4 separate regions of the Homo sapiens genome follow, and regions 1, 2 and 4 are each linked to region 3. The links are contacts of gene promoters, found by promoter capture Hi-C in human tissues and cell types (Jung and others, 2019). All regions are on one chromosome and are shown on one strand. Each heading gives the region's core, a stretch centred on a gene start or on the middle of the fragment in contact. The rest is flanking DNA. Distances are from core to core; before and after follow the strand shown.

Region 1 (3,345 bases), core at 357-2,856, 540 kb after region 3:
TTTTGAAATTGCAGGCCAGGGTGGTGGCTCATGCCTATAATCCCAGTGCTTAGGGAGACTGAGACAGGAGGATTGCTTGAGGCCAGCAGTTGGAGACCAGCCTGGACAACATAGTGAGACCCCATCTAAACAAAAAATTTTTTTAATTAGTTGGGTGTAATAGTACAATCCTGTAATCCCAGCTATTCAGGAGGCTGTGGCAGGAGGATCGCTTGAGCCCAGGAGGTCGAGGCTGCAGTGAGCTGTGATCATGCCACTGCACTCTGGCCTGGGTGACAGAGTGAGACCCTGTCTCTGGGGGAAAAAGGAAAAGAAAAACTACATTCTGAAGATTGAACATAGCTGTGTTTCATCCTGTGCTGTATAAGTGGCTCTAAGCAGTTGTGATTACATTTTATGACGTGAATCCTTTTAAATGCAATAGGGAAGCTTATTTAAAGAAAGCTGGTGGCGAATATGGTTGTCAACCAAATGGTCTGTTATGTATGTCTGGTACTTTATGTATCAGAGTGCTTTTCTCCACGTCACCTCAGTTTGATCCTTACAGCGTCCTGTGAGGAAGGGAAGATGCTGTTACTGCTATTTTCTAGGTGAGGAACTGGACTTGAGAGGTGATACAGGGTCAAAACCAGATCCAAACTAGATTGTTAAAGTCCGTAGCTCTATATATTTATTTTCTAAGTCTCTATCTGTAAACAATGCATTTACTTGAATCGACCCAGGAACCTGCCAAGCTTAGTGAGTTTCAGTAGCGGCCTTCCCGCACATGAATGAGATCACTAAGGGGGAGGTTTGTAACCACCTGTGGTGGGGGCAGCCAGGAGTGTATTCTTCCTCCTGGGTTAGGGCGTCCCCCTTTTCCCTCTGGTTCTGGTGTTATCCTCAGCGTGACGTGTGTGGGCTCGTGTTCCTGTTTACCTCAGGGAGAATGAGAAACGGTTATGTTACCCCATCAGTGAGTTCTGGCTAAGTAGGAATAAAAGTTGTCATAGAGACTTTTAGGACTAGGACATTTCATGACCGTGCTTCGTTTTTGAATAACTGAGAGGGGTGAGAGCGGTGGCCCCATTCAAAGGTCGTCAGGGATGAAGGTAGGCAAGGACAAGTCATGTGCAGGGCGCCTTAGAGGGCCTTCAGAAGATGGAAAGTCGCTCCTGGCTGAACATTCAGATTTGATTCTGTAAACAGAATTGAACATAACTTACAAAGAGACTGAGTCCTGCAGTTGGAAGTTGATGCTTAGATTAGTCGCCTGTGTTTTCACAGCTTCTAAGTAGTGTGTTGTAATTGTGTGGCAAAGTATGTGATTACCTGGGGGGTCCATAATTGCTGACTTGTGTTTTTACTTGATGTATTTGAAAACAGTTAGGAAAATGATTTTGCCAAAGTGTGTCTTACCTTAGTTAAGATGAAATGTACCTTATTGTGAGTTTCTGAAGATTGCAAAAGCTTGTCAGTTTAGTTTTTGGGGTCCCATTAGTGAGGGCACCCCTCTTTACCTTACTCAAACCAGCTCTTCACATGTATTCCAAGAAACTAGAGGGCATGCTAAGAGGTATTTCTCAACAAATGGTTTGTGCTCAGATGCTGTTGCTTGTAGCTGAGGAATTTGACTGCAGACTTTCCCAGAGCCTTGGTGTCCTGATTGGGCACTGTGAGAGAGGGGCTACAGTTGGACCACTCTCAATCCTGTTTGACGCTAGAACTCTTTTTAGCCTATTATGGGTCCGCAGACTTCCTCTGCAAAGGGCCAGAGAGCACGCATTTGGCTTTCTGAGCCATATGGTCTCTTGTTGCAACTACTCAAGGCTGCCATTTCAGCAAGAAAGTAGCCATAGGCGAGTGGGCCTGGCTGTGTTCCAGTAAAACTCTAGTTGTAAAGACTGGCATCTGAGGACTTCGCCCATGGGCTGCAATTTGGTGACTGATATAACGTGGGACTTCATTCTCTGAGCACCCGTTGGGGAGCACTGGCCTACCACGGCTGCACAGACAGCTTTAAGGAAAACAGCAGCAGGGCAAGTTTTCTGAGCTGCATGATGTGGAGCCCGGGAGAGCCCAGGTGAGCAGCAGGCTAGCTTGGGTCTCCTGTCTTGGAGCACTTCAGAGCTTAGCAGGGCCCTCTCTCTCTGTCTTTTTTGTTCCTCTGTAACAGTTATATGGATGACTTGATTTAAAATCAGACGAATTTATCAGAAAGCCTGGTGACCGGTTGCATTTTTCTTTGTTCTTTTGCTTTTTGTTGACCCCAGTGGCCCACATGGCATTTCTCGTCCGTCTTTGTCATCTCAGGCTCTAGGCTTGCTCCCCTTCCTGTGACACCAGAAGGTGAGCGTCAGTAAGAACTCCAGAGCCTTTCCACGGCCCTCTTCCCAGCACTTCCCTCCCCAGGGGCAGTGCCTGACACATAGTAGGCCCTCAGGAAATATTTGAGGGAATTAGTGAAAGAATTATATAGTATTTGTCCCTTAAAGTTCTTATCATTTTCTTGTTAAGGTTTTACTTTCAAGCAGATTGCCACCTATCTTCTAATTGGGTCTGTTATTTGCTTCCGAGTTCCGTACCCATGGGCTCCCACCCGGCCACCAAACCAGCTGGCCTTAGGAGTGCTGAGGCCAGAGCATGTTTGGGGCAAGTTACATCAGCTCTCTGAGCTCAGAGTTTCCTCATCTGTAACATGGAGATAATAACAATTCCCATCTCAGGGTGGTTATGAGGGTAGCCTGAGATGATGTGTGTCTGGCATATCCGCCCAATGGGAACTGACACTAGCGTTAACCAGGGACGTTGTCGTACCTTGTAAGTCCTAGGACTTACTGGGAGTGCTAGTCTGATTGGAGCAAGACCTGTTTCTCAGCAGTTCTGGAAAGGACAGAAGCCATGTGTGCTCGTATCCACAGAAACCAGTGTGCAGGCACGCGTGTGATAGTGTAGCACCTCAGCAGATACATAGCCGGGAATTCTGTCATCTATACCATTGACTCTGTCTCCATTTTTTATTGTATTTTTAAAAATAGGAACGTGATGGCCATGAAAGCTTAAAATTACGAAAACTTAAATGGTGTGTGTTCTGAATTATTTTTTCTTTTAAATCAAATCAGGATGTACACTGAAAATTATTGATAATTTTGAAGCATATTTCATGGACTGTTTAAGCAGCAGACAAGTATGTGATTCTGTTTGTTTACTGTGTATAATTTATCTTGAGGTACCTGTTAAGCATTAGCAGTGTACACAGGATTCTGATAGATGCCTGTGAGTACTTAGAACCATCTTGAGAAGATGAAACCTCGAGGCAAAACTTAAGGAAAGGGTACAGAAATGCAGTCAAGTGCAAAAACTCTG
Region 2 (3,392 bases), core at 577-3,076, 730 kb after region 3:
TGAGACAGAATGTTGCTCTGTCACCCAGCCTGTAGTGCAGCGGCACGATCTCGGCTCACTGCAACCTCCACTTCCCAAGTTCAAGCCATTCCCCTGCCTCAGTCTCCCGAGTAGCTGGGATTACAGGTGCCTGCCACCATGCCCGGCTAACTTTTGTATTTTTAGTACAGATGGGGTTTCTCCATGTTGGCCAGGCTGGTCTCGAACTCCTGACCTCATGTGATCCGCCTACCTCAGCCTCCCAAAGTGCTGGGTTTACGGGCGTGAGCCACCGCACCCCTGGCTGATATGCTGATTTTTAAAACCTTGATTCCTGGATATTCTGTTGTCTTTCCTTTCTACTTGTTACAAATTTGTGAAGAACAGGAGAGGCTCCCAGTTAGATGCGGTTCATTTAGGCTTAGACTTTGACACGGCGTGGCTGGCTGGCCACATATCCTTGACACCATCACGTATTGCAAATCTACTGACCAAGGCAGGGTCCTGGTATGTGGTCCCTGGGGTCAGTGGGTGTTGGTGTTGGGTCGGTCCAGTCCTGTGTTGGAGTGAAAGTGTCTGGTTTCTGGGCCTGCGTCGGTGAACTGCGTGCGGCTGGGGACACATTGGCTGCTTTCCTCCCTCGCTGGGCTCTGCCGGCAACTTTCTCAGCCCACTGGACTGAGCAGGAAGTTACAGAAGACAAGTCTCCTTCTTAGTTAGAAGGTAGAACCCATCGTCAGCTGTTTTTCAGTTTTTAAAGTACACAAATTTTTTTTAAAAAATCTGTTTTGGATGAAAAAGCAATGGGAAAGAATCAACTTTTAGAAGATGAGACAGTTTCAGAATATTAACATTTAAATATTTGGATCCCTTTTGGGAGGATTTTTTTTTTGCTTGACTGTCAAGAGCAAAGAAGTGTGGCCCATCGGGGGCTTCTGCAGGGGCTGCGAGGGTCGAGACAGGTTTCAGTTTGGTAGGTTGATGCGAGGTGTCACCCGTGAGGCGAATGTGGGAAGTGCTGTCAGCAGGCATCTGCCAGCTGGGCATGGTGGCTCACGCCTGTCATCCCAGCTCTTTGTAAGGCCAAGGCGGGAAGATGGTTTCAGCCCAGGAGTTCGAGACCAGTCTTGGCAACATAGCAAAACCCCATTTCTACAAAAAATTTTTTAAAAAATTATGGGGGCATGGTGGTCTGTGCCTGTGGTCCCAGCTACTCGTGAGGCGGAGGCAGGAGCATTGCCTGAGTCCAGGAGGTTGGGGCTGCAGTGAGCTGTGATCGCAGTGACAGAGCGAGACCCCCTCTGAAAAGAAGGCAGCAGCCCACCCCCTCCAGTTTCGCTTCTGCGGTTCTGAGAAGACACAGTATCTTACACTGATGACATCTGTGAGGGCTCCTTGCCAAAACCACACCCTGACACTGTGGCATTTGGTCCTGTGGATTTCTCTTTCAGCAACAGCCCGACTTAGAGATGTCCACGCTAGCTTCTGCTAGACACCCTTGATGGGACGAATTACCATATTGTTTCTCGTGTCTTCCTAATTCTCATTCTTTCTGCATATTTGTCTTTTCAGGAAAACCAATTCTGTGTCCTCGGAGGACCACAGCCCAGTTGGGCCCCAGGCGAAACCCAGCCTGGAGCTTGCAGGCAGGACGACTGTTCAGCACGCAGACCGCCGAGGACAAGGAGGAACCCCTGCACTCGATTATCAGCAGCACAGAGAGCGTGCAGGGTAGCCTTGGCTCGTGCTTTGGTCTGGGAGGGCTTTTTGGTTCACTGCTGTGCGTAAAGGGGCATTTTCAGGGTGGAGGCAGTGATTGGTAGAGCCACCGCCTTAGGTGTGAAATCAGAAGGTCTTGGCTGTAGGGAGTGCTGCGCCCTCCATTTCTGTCCCAGCGAGGGACTTCTGCCAGTGTCGGGTGTGTCTTGCCCCCTCTGGTGGCCACCCGTGAGTTTGCCGTCCGGCACCTCCCCTGAGTGGTGATTCATGGCACATCTGCTAATAATCATGGAAGCGGGAGGGGAAACTCAGCATTGGCCCAGTCTGCGCAGGACCGAATTCTGGAGCTGTCTTTTCATTCCCTCTGAAGTATAAAAAAGCAGTCTTTGGAGCCAGTCCTGAAGTGGCTCCATTTCTGGCTTTTAAGTGGGTCGACAAGAGTAGAATCTTTGAAGTTAAAAAGAGAAGTGAGGTTTTCTTGTTATTTTGATTTCTAACTAATTAATTTGGAAACCGCTTTTTTGAAGAATATAGTCCAGGCACAGTGGCTCACACTTGTAATCCCAGCACTTTGGGAGGCCGAGGCAGGAGGATTGCTTGAGGCCAAGTGGTCGAGACCAACCTGGGCAAGATAGACCCTTTCTCTACAGAAAAAAATTAAAAAGTTAGCCAGGCATGGTAGCACACACCAGTGGTTCCAGGTACTTGAGAGGCTGAGGCAGGAGAATCGGTTGAGCCCAGGAAGTTGAGGCTGCAGTGAGCACGATCCTGCCACTGCATAGCAGCCTGGGCAACAGAGCCAGATCCTGCCTCTAAAAAAAAAAGAAAGAACATATAATCTGGTTCTTAGAGGCAGTCCAGTTCTCGTAACCATGCACATTGGGAAACCAGGCTCAGCATTCCCTCGACATAGCCCGAGGCATGTCTGGCCTCAGCAGTGGGAGGATTTGTCCTGCCCTGAGACCTCCTTTCTGAGAGACTTTTTGTTTTGTTTTGTTTTGAGACAGGGTCTTTCTCTGTCACCCAGGCCGAGTGCTGTAGTGCAATCATGGCTCACTGAAGCCTCGACCTCCCTGGCTCAAGTGATCCTCCCACCTCAGCCCCCTGAGTCACTGGGACCACAAGTGTGTGCCACCACCGTCAGCTACTTTGTGTATTTTTTGTAGAGATGGCGGGATCCCTCTGTGTTGCCCAGGCTGGTCTTGAGCTCCTGGGCTTAAGTGATTCTCCTGCCTTGGCCTCCCAAAGTGCTGGGATTACAGGCATGAGCCATGGTGCCCAGCCAGACTTTGTTTCTGTCTGCTTCTTTCTTTTTGTTCATGATCTTAAATGTGTGGGAGGCCGAGGCGGGCCAATCATGAGGTCAGGAGATCGAGGCTATCCTGGCTAACATGGTAAAACCCCGTCTCTACTAAAACTACAAAAAATTAGCCGGGCGTGGTGGCAGGCACCTGTAGTCCCAGCTACTCGGGAGGCTGAGGCAAGAGAATGGCGTGAACCCGGGAGGCAGAGCTTGCAGTGAGCCGAGATCGTGCCACTGTACTCCAGCCTGGGTGACAGAGCGAGACTCCGTCTCAAAAAAAAAAAAAAAAAAAAGTTTAAAACTCATAAACTTAAGCTTTCTTTGGAATGTGACGTAGCGTATTCTTGCACAAAAATAGAAGTTAAACTTTGTTGGTTGTGTCTGTGTTTCA
Region 3 (3,066 bases), core at 175-2,674:
GCTTATGCCTCTAATCCCAGCACTTTGGGAGGCTGAGGCAGGTGGATCACTTGAGGTCAGGAGTTTGAGACCAGCCTGGCCAACATGGCAAAATCCCATCTCTACTAAAAATACAAAAATTAGGAGTAGTGGCGCACACCTGTAATCCCAGCTGCTTGGGAGGCTGAAGCAGGAGAATCGCTTGAACTCAGGAGGTGGAGGTTGCAGTGAGCTGAGATGACACCACTGCACTCCAGCCTGGGCAACAGAGTGAGACTCTGTCTCAAAACAAACAAACAAAAAGCCTTTTCAATAAACCACAAGTGACTTTGGTTCACAGTAAATACACTTCTGCCCGAACTAAGATAAAATGTAAGCATTGCTTTTCAAACCTTAGAAATGCAAGAATCAGCTGGGTGCGTTGGCTCATTCCTATAATCCCCACACTTTGGCAGGCCAAGTTGGGAGGACTGCTTGAGTCTCGTTCGAGACCAGCCTGACCATCATGGTGAAACCCCGTCTCTTACTAAAAATAAAAAATTAGTTGGGCGCGGTGGCAGGCGCCTGTAATCCCAGCTATTCGGGAGGCTGAGGCAAGAGAATTGCTTGAACCCGCGAGGCAGAGGGTGCAGTGAGCTGAGATCGCGCCACTGCACTCCAGCCTGGGTGACAGGGACTCCGTGTCAAATAAATGAATAAATACTAAAGAAAAATTAAAAGCTATTATTATTATTATTTTTAGAGGCAGGGTCTCTTTCTGTCTCCCAGGCTGGAGTGCAGTGGCACGGTCACAGATAACTGCAGCCTCGACCTCTTGGGCTCAAGGGATACTCCTGCCTCAGTCTCCCAAAGTTCGGGATTACAGACCTGAGCCACCGCGCCTGGCCGGATGCAGAGCGCCTGGCCGGATGCAGAGGCTTTTGAGTAGGCCCGGTGGACAGGGATTTGCTTTAGACCTGGGCCCCTGTTCCCCCTCTGCCTCTTACCACTGGTGTGACCTGGGGACCGACAGTTTACACTCTCCTTTAGCCGGGGGTTTCCTGTCTCTGAAATGGAGCTAATTTCTCCCCTCTCTACAGGAAGAGGTAGATAGTGCTGGAAGGCGTGCTAGGTACACCGCAAAGACTCCACAGCAAATCCTGCACACAAAATCGCGAATGCTGCAGCCGAGACCCCACGCAAGCAAGCACCGCAGGAGACGTGGGCTGACAGCTGCGCCCCACGTGACCTCCCACCCGCGCCAGTCCGTCCCCTCGGTATCAGGGCGTGGCCTCGCGGGGCGGCCGTACCTGGATTGGCCGGGAGGCGGGACCGGTGGTGCGCGCGCGAAAGGAGAGGGGCTTGGGGGCGTGGCCCAGGGGGCCGGAGACGGCTGCGATTGGCAGTGGGGCGCGCCGGGGGCGTGACCGCGGCATTGGGTCCCGGGTGGGGCCGAGGCAGCGGGAGTCGCGGTTGCTCAGCGTGCACCTGAGACCCGACGCCCGGGGTCCTCGAAGACGCGTCCGCCGCCGTGCCCGTCGCCATGAACCGCTTCAGGGTGTCCAAGTTCCGGCACACCGAGGCTCGGCCGCCCCGCCGCGAGGTGAGTCCGGCCCGAGGACCGGGCGCTGTCGCCTCGGGCCCCGTCCGGCTGCCCCTCCCCCTGCCCGGACCCCACAGGGGTGCCCTCCAGGGCCGTCTGGAACCCCGAGACCTCCATCCCCGGGGAACCCCCCTTCAGGCCAGGGCCCCGGCGTCCGGGCCGTTTCGTCGCCGCCGGAGGGCAGAGTCCGGCACTCCCGTGACTCGCTCTGGCGCTCGGTGACCCTGGCGGTCTGCCCGCCTCGCCCACCTCGCCCCGGGACCCCCGAGGCGGCGCAGCCCTCCTAGCCGGGGCCCAGGCCTGCGAGGCCGCCTGCCTTCCCAGCTTCCGGTCGGCCTCGCCGGGAGCCGGGGCTCGGGGCGCTGCCGGCGCCTGGCTCCTCCTCCCTGCCGCCCCGGGTCGCCCCTGCCCCTGGCTGGGCTGTGGGGAGACGCCCCTCTCTCCTCTGGCCCCGGCGAGCCCAAGTGTGTCAGTGGTGGGGAGGGAGCCCCTCGGCCGCACGCGCCCCTCCCTCGGGTTTCCGCCGGTGCTTCCTCCTCTCGCCGCTGGCGCAAGCTCTTTCTTTATCTCGGTGATGCTGCCACGGCTGGGTGGGGCCTGGGGAAGCCTGAGCAGGTGGAGCCCCAAAGAATTGCTGAGCCAGGTGCCGGGAGACCCTTCGGACCCCCGAAACGGCAGGAGGACTGATGAGGGGTGCGCCTTGGAAACGATGTCAGCTCTGCTCTTCCGCTTTCCGTGTTATTTGTAAGGCCTGGGAGTGTCCTCCGATAACTGGGCCTAGGAGTTGACCTCAAGTGACCCCATCAGGGTCCCAGAGCAAGTCAGGGCAGTCTGGGTAGAGGTTCCGTTTTTGTAGTGTGGACTATATTTCCTCTGCTTCCACTTTATGCTGTGCTAAGCTGCTGGAGACATCCCGGTGAACACAACGGCATTTTCCTTCCCCTGTGGCACTTGTAGCCTCATGAGGGAGACAGCAAGCAGACAAACAAGAGCATTGGAGGTTTTCATAACGACATTGAAGAACACACATGAGGGACTGGGATGGAGAATGGAGGGGGCCAGTCTCAGTAGCGTGGTCAGGAAAGGCTGCCTGGAGTAGATGGCATTTTAGCTGAGGCCAGAAGGGTGAGAATTGAGAAAGAGCCTGGTGGAGAAATGGAAAGTGAGCATGAGTGGATGGAGGGGATGGCCGGAGCAGTATGGTGACAGATGAGTCCAGAGTGGTCCTGCAGAACCCAAGGGCCACCGGAAGAAGTTGGGTTTTATTCTGATTGCAGTGCAGAGCCATTGAAAAGTTAGGGGGAGGGGCTGGATACCATGACTCACGGTAATCCCAGTACTTTGGGTGGACTGCTTTGAGCTCAGGAGTTCGAGACCAGCCTGGGCAACATTGCGAAACCCCTCTGAACAACAAGTTAAAGAAAAAAAAATTAGCCAGGTGTGGTGACTCACTCCCGTGGTCCCAGCTACTTGGGAGGCTGAGGTTGGAGGATCTCTTGAGCCGA
Region 4 (3,050 bases), core at 313-2,812, 810 kb after region 3:
CATGAGTTACACAAACAACACAATAATGCTGCTTCTCTTGTTTTCTTGAATTTATTCCAAAGTGGGTAAGTTGGACTGGGCCAGCCAATTTGGATAGGCTGCTGAGAGGGCCGCATGAGGACTCTGTGTGGGCTCAAGTCCCAGGAGAATCTTCAGGTTCTTTCTTTCTCTCTCTGAAGACCTTTTAATCTTTTCCTTTGTTATTGTTATTGATTTATTTACTTACTTAGTTTTTAGAGACAGGATCTTGGTCTCTCACCCAGGCTGGAGTGCAGTGGTGCTATCATAGCTTACTGCAGCCTTGACCTCCCAGGTTCAAGCAGTCCTCCCTGCCTCAGCCTCCCGAGTAGCTGGGACCACAGGCACCCACCACCGTGCCTGGATAATTTTTTAACTGTTTAAAGCAGTTTTCTTGCCCTGCTGCCCTTGGTATACTGAGCTATATGCTTACTACACATTCTTCATGCAAAACTGAAAACTACCCTTGCATATATAATACACCATGGGCTCTCTGAGCTCCTGAGTTCTGTTTCTAAATTTCCTTTGCCCTCACTTCCTGATCTTAATAACCTCTCAGTAGAGTGGTGGTAGAGTCTCAGGTCGCATAGACTACTGGAAGGCATCAGCAGTGTTGCCTCACCAACTTTACTGGTCTCTCGTGCTCTTTGCCAGTCGGATGAAATCTATGCATGGTTCCCCCAAAACACGTATCCATGCGCGTATCTGCAAAACTGGCACACAACTTCATGGGGTTCATGGATCCCCACTGAAGATCATCCGTGGATCCCAAGTTAAAGAAGAACTGATCTAGGACATAAACCTTTGTCATTAATATTTCTTTAATAATAGCTTTATTGGGGTATAATTGATATTCCATAAAATTCACCATTTAAAAGGGTATGGTTCAGTGGTTTTTAGTATATTCACAGACTTGTCCAACCACCACCACTACCTAACGTTAGAACAGTTTTATCATCCTAAAAATAAACCCCATGCTCATTAGCAGTCACATCCCATTCCCCTCCTGTTATTGATATTTATGTCTATATTGCCATAAACAAAGAGGTTACCAACAAGCAACCAGTCCTCTTCACATTTGTGAGTCAAACCTAAACTAGTTGATAAAGGACTCTTGAAACTTGCGTCTAACCTGTATCTGGTAGAAAAGTCTTTTATTTCTCCAGCTACAACAGATGGTTGTGAATATTTTCCTCCTTGCCAGAGAATGTGCCCAACAGCGACTCCCAGCCTCCTCCTTCCTGTTTGACAACAGCAGTGCCAAGTCCCTCCAAACCCCGCACAGCACAATTGGTCCTACAGCGAATGCAGCAGTTCAAGAGAGCAGACCCCGAGCGTTTGAGACACGCTTCAGAAGAGTGCTCCCTCGAGGCTGCGCGGGAAGAAAATGTCCCAAAGGATCCTCAAGAGGAGATGATGGCGGGGAATGGTATGATGAGTGTGTTTCTGTCTTCCACACAGAGATAAGTTAATACAACTCTGAGGAAGGGAGGCGGGAAGGAATCAGCATTTGTTGAGTTTCTTCTGTGGATAGGCTCTCTGCTTGATGTTTTACCTTTGCCACTTCACTGGATCCAGCCAGAGAATGAAGAGTCTCTGGGATCATTTCCCACCTAGCTTCCTTGATAAGGTACCGTTTTGTTTTTTTTTCTGAGACAGAGCCTTGCTCTGTCACCCAGGCTGGAGTGCAGTGACATGATCTCAGCTCACTGCAACCTCCGCCTCCCAGGTTCAAGCAATTATCTTGCCCCAGCCAGTGGGATTACAGACGTGTGCCACCACACCTGGCCAATTTTTGTATTTTTAGTAGAGACAGGGTTTCGCCAAGTTGGCCAGGCTGGTCTCGAACTCCTGACCTCAAGTGATCTGCCTACCTCAGCTCCCCAAAGTGCTGGGATTACAGGCGTGAACCATTGCACCTGGCCCTCTTCCTTTTTTTTTTTTTTTTTTTTTTTTGAGATGGAGTCTCGCTCCGTCACCCAGGCTGGAGTGCAGTGGCACGATATTAGCTCACTGCAAGCTCCACCTCCCAGGTTCACGCCATTCTCCTGCCTCAGCCTCCCGAGTAGCTGGGACTACAGGCTCCCACCACCACGCCTGGCTAATTTTTTGTATTTTTAGTAGAGACAAGGTTTCACCTTGTTAGCCAGGATGGTCTCGATCTCCTGACCTCGTGATCCACCCGCCTTGGCCTCCCAAAGTGCTGGGATTACAGGCGTGAGCCACTGTGCCTGGCCTCCTTTTTTTAAAAATTATGACTTTTTATTATGAAAGCTTTCCCTTTCAGTTTTTTCCTTTTAAAAAGATAACCCTCAGTATTCACAAAGAACTCTTCCTTTCAGAAAAGGTTTTTTTGTTGTTGTTGTTTTAATTACAATGAAGCCAGGCATGATGGCTCATGCCTATAATCCCAAAACTTTGGGAGGCCAAGGCAGGAGGACTACTTGAGGTCACAAGTTCGAGACCAGCCTGGACAACATAGTGAGACCCCCATCTCTACAAAAAAATTTTAGGGGCCAGGCGTGGTGGCTCACGCCTGTAATGCCAGCACTTTGGGAGGCCGAGGTGCGCAGATCACAAGGTCAGGAGATTGAGACCATCCTGGCTAACACAGTGAAACCCCATCTCTATGAAAAATACAAAAAATTAGCAAGGTATGGTGGTGGGTGCCTGTAGTCCCAGCTACTCGGGAGGCTGAGGCAGGAGAATGGCGTGAACCTGGGAGACAGAGCTTGCAGTGAGCCGAGATTGCACCACTGCACTCCAGCCTGGGCAACAGAGCAAGACTCTGACTCAAAAAAAAATTTTTTTTTAATTAGCTGGGCATGATGGTGCACAACTGTAGTCCCAGCTACTCGGGAGGCTGAGGTGGGAGGATTGCTTGAGCCCAGGACGTTGAGCTGCAGTGAGCTGTGATTGCATCATTGCACTCCAGGGCAACAGAGTGAGACCCTGTCTCAAAAAAAAAAAAAAAAAAATTACAATGAATCCCCTAATCCCCTATACCTCAATCTAGATTTAACAAATGTTAA

Evidence for each region. Contacts are between HindIII fragments. The study calls those that stand out against the background at their distance.
Region 1: a contact is called between a fragment that was not itself captured here and the fragment with the promoter of CORO7 in region 3, in 2 of the 25 tissues and cell types used here (dorsolateral prefrontal cortex and spleen).
Region 2: a fragment that was not itself captured here is called in contact with the fragment with the promoter of CORO7 in region 3 in 1 of the 25 tissues and cell types used here (dorsolateral prefrontal cortex).
Region 4: a fragment that was not itself captured here is called in contact with the fragment with the promoter of CORO7 in region 3 in 1 of the 25 tissues and cell types used here (dorsolateral prefrontal cortex).

Annotation. Positions count from the first base shown.
Region 1 is chr16:3,873,007-3,876,351 of GRCh38, reverse strand. The region is part of intron 1 of CREBBP (CREB binding lysine acetyltransferase); the gene reads left to right. Among named protein-coding and RNA genes, the nearest start is that of CREBBP, 6.0 kb to the left of the region's middle. The HindIII fragment of the contact is 5,503 bases long and covers 1-3,345 here.
Region 2 is chr16:3,689,145-3,692,536 of GRCh38, reverse strand. It overlaps TRAP1 (TNF receptor associated protein 1), which reads left to right. Exons shown (of 18, transcript NM_016292.3): 2 at 1,552-1,710. Among named protein-coding and RNA genes, the nearest start is that of TRAP1, 27 kb to the left of the region's middle. The HindIII fragment of the contact is 7,881 bases long and covers 1-3,392 here.
Region 3 is chr16:4,414,954-4,418,019 of GRCh38, reverse strand. It overlaps CORO7 (coronin 7), which reads left to right and starts at 1,424. Exons shown (of 28, transcript NM_024535.5): 1 at 1,424-1,561. The coding sequence starts at 1,502. It overlaps CORO7-PAM16 (CORO7-PAM16 readthrough), which reads left to right and starts at 1,424. Exons shown (of 31, transcript NM_001201479.2): 1 at 1,424-1,561. The coding sequence starts at 1,502. LOC124903635 (a long non-coding RNA gene) reads left to right here. Exons shown (of 3, transcript XR_007064963.1): 3 at 1,059-1,295. The HindIII fragment of the contact is 38,450 bases long and covers 1-3,066 here.
Region 4 is chr16:3,604,871-3,607,920 of GRCh38, reverse strand. SLX4 (SLX4 structure-specific endonuclease subunit) reads left to right here. Exons shown (of 15, transcript NM_032444.4): 3 at 1,223-1,447. Among named protein-coding and RNA genes, the nearest start is that of SLX4, 5.2 kb to the left of the region's middle. The HindIII fragment of the contact is 4,547 bases long and covers 1-3,050 here.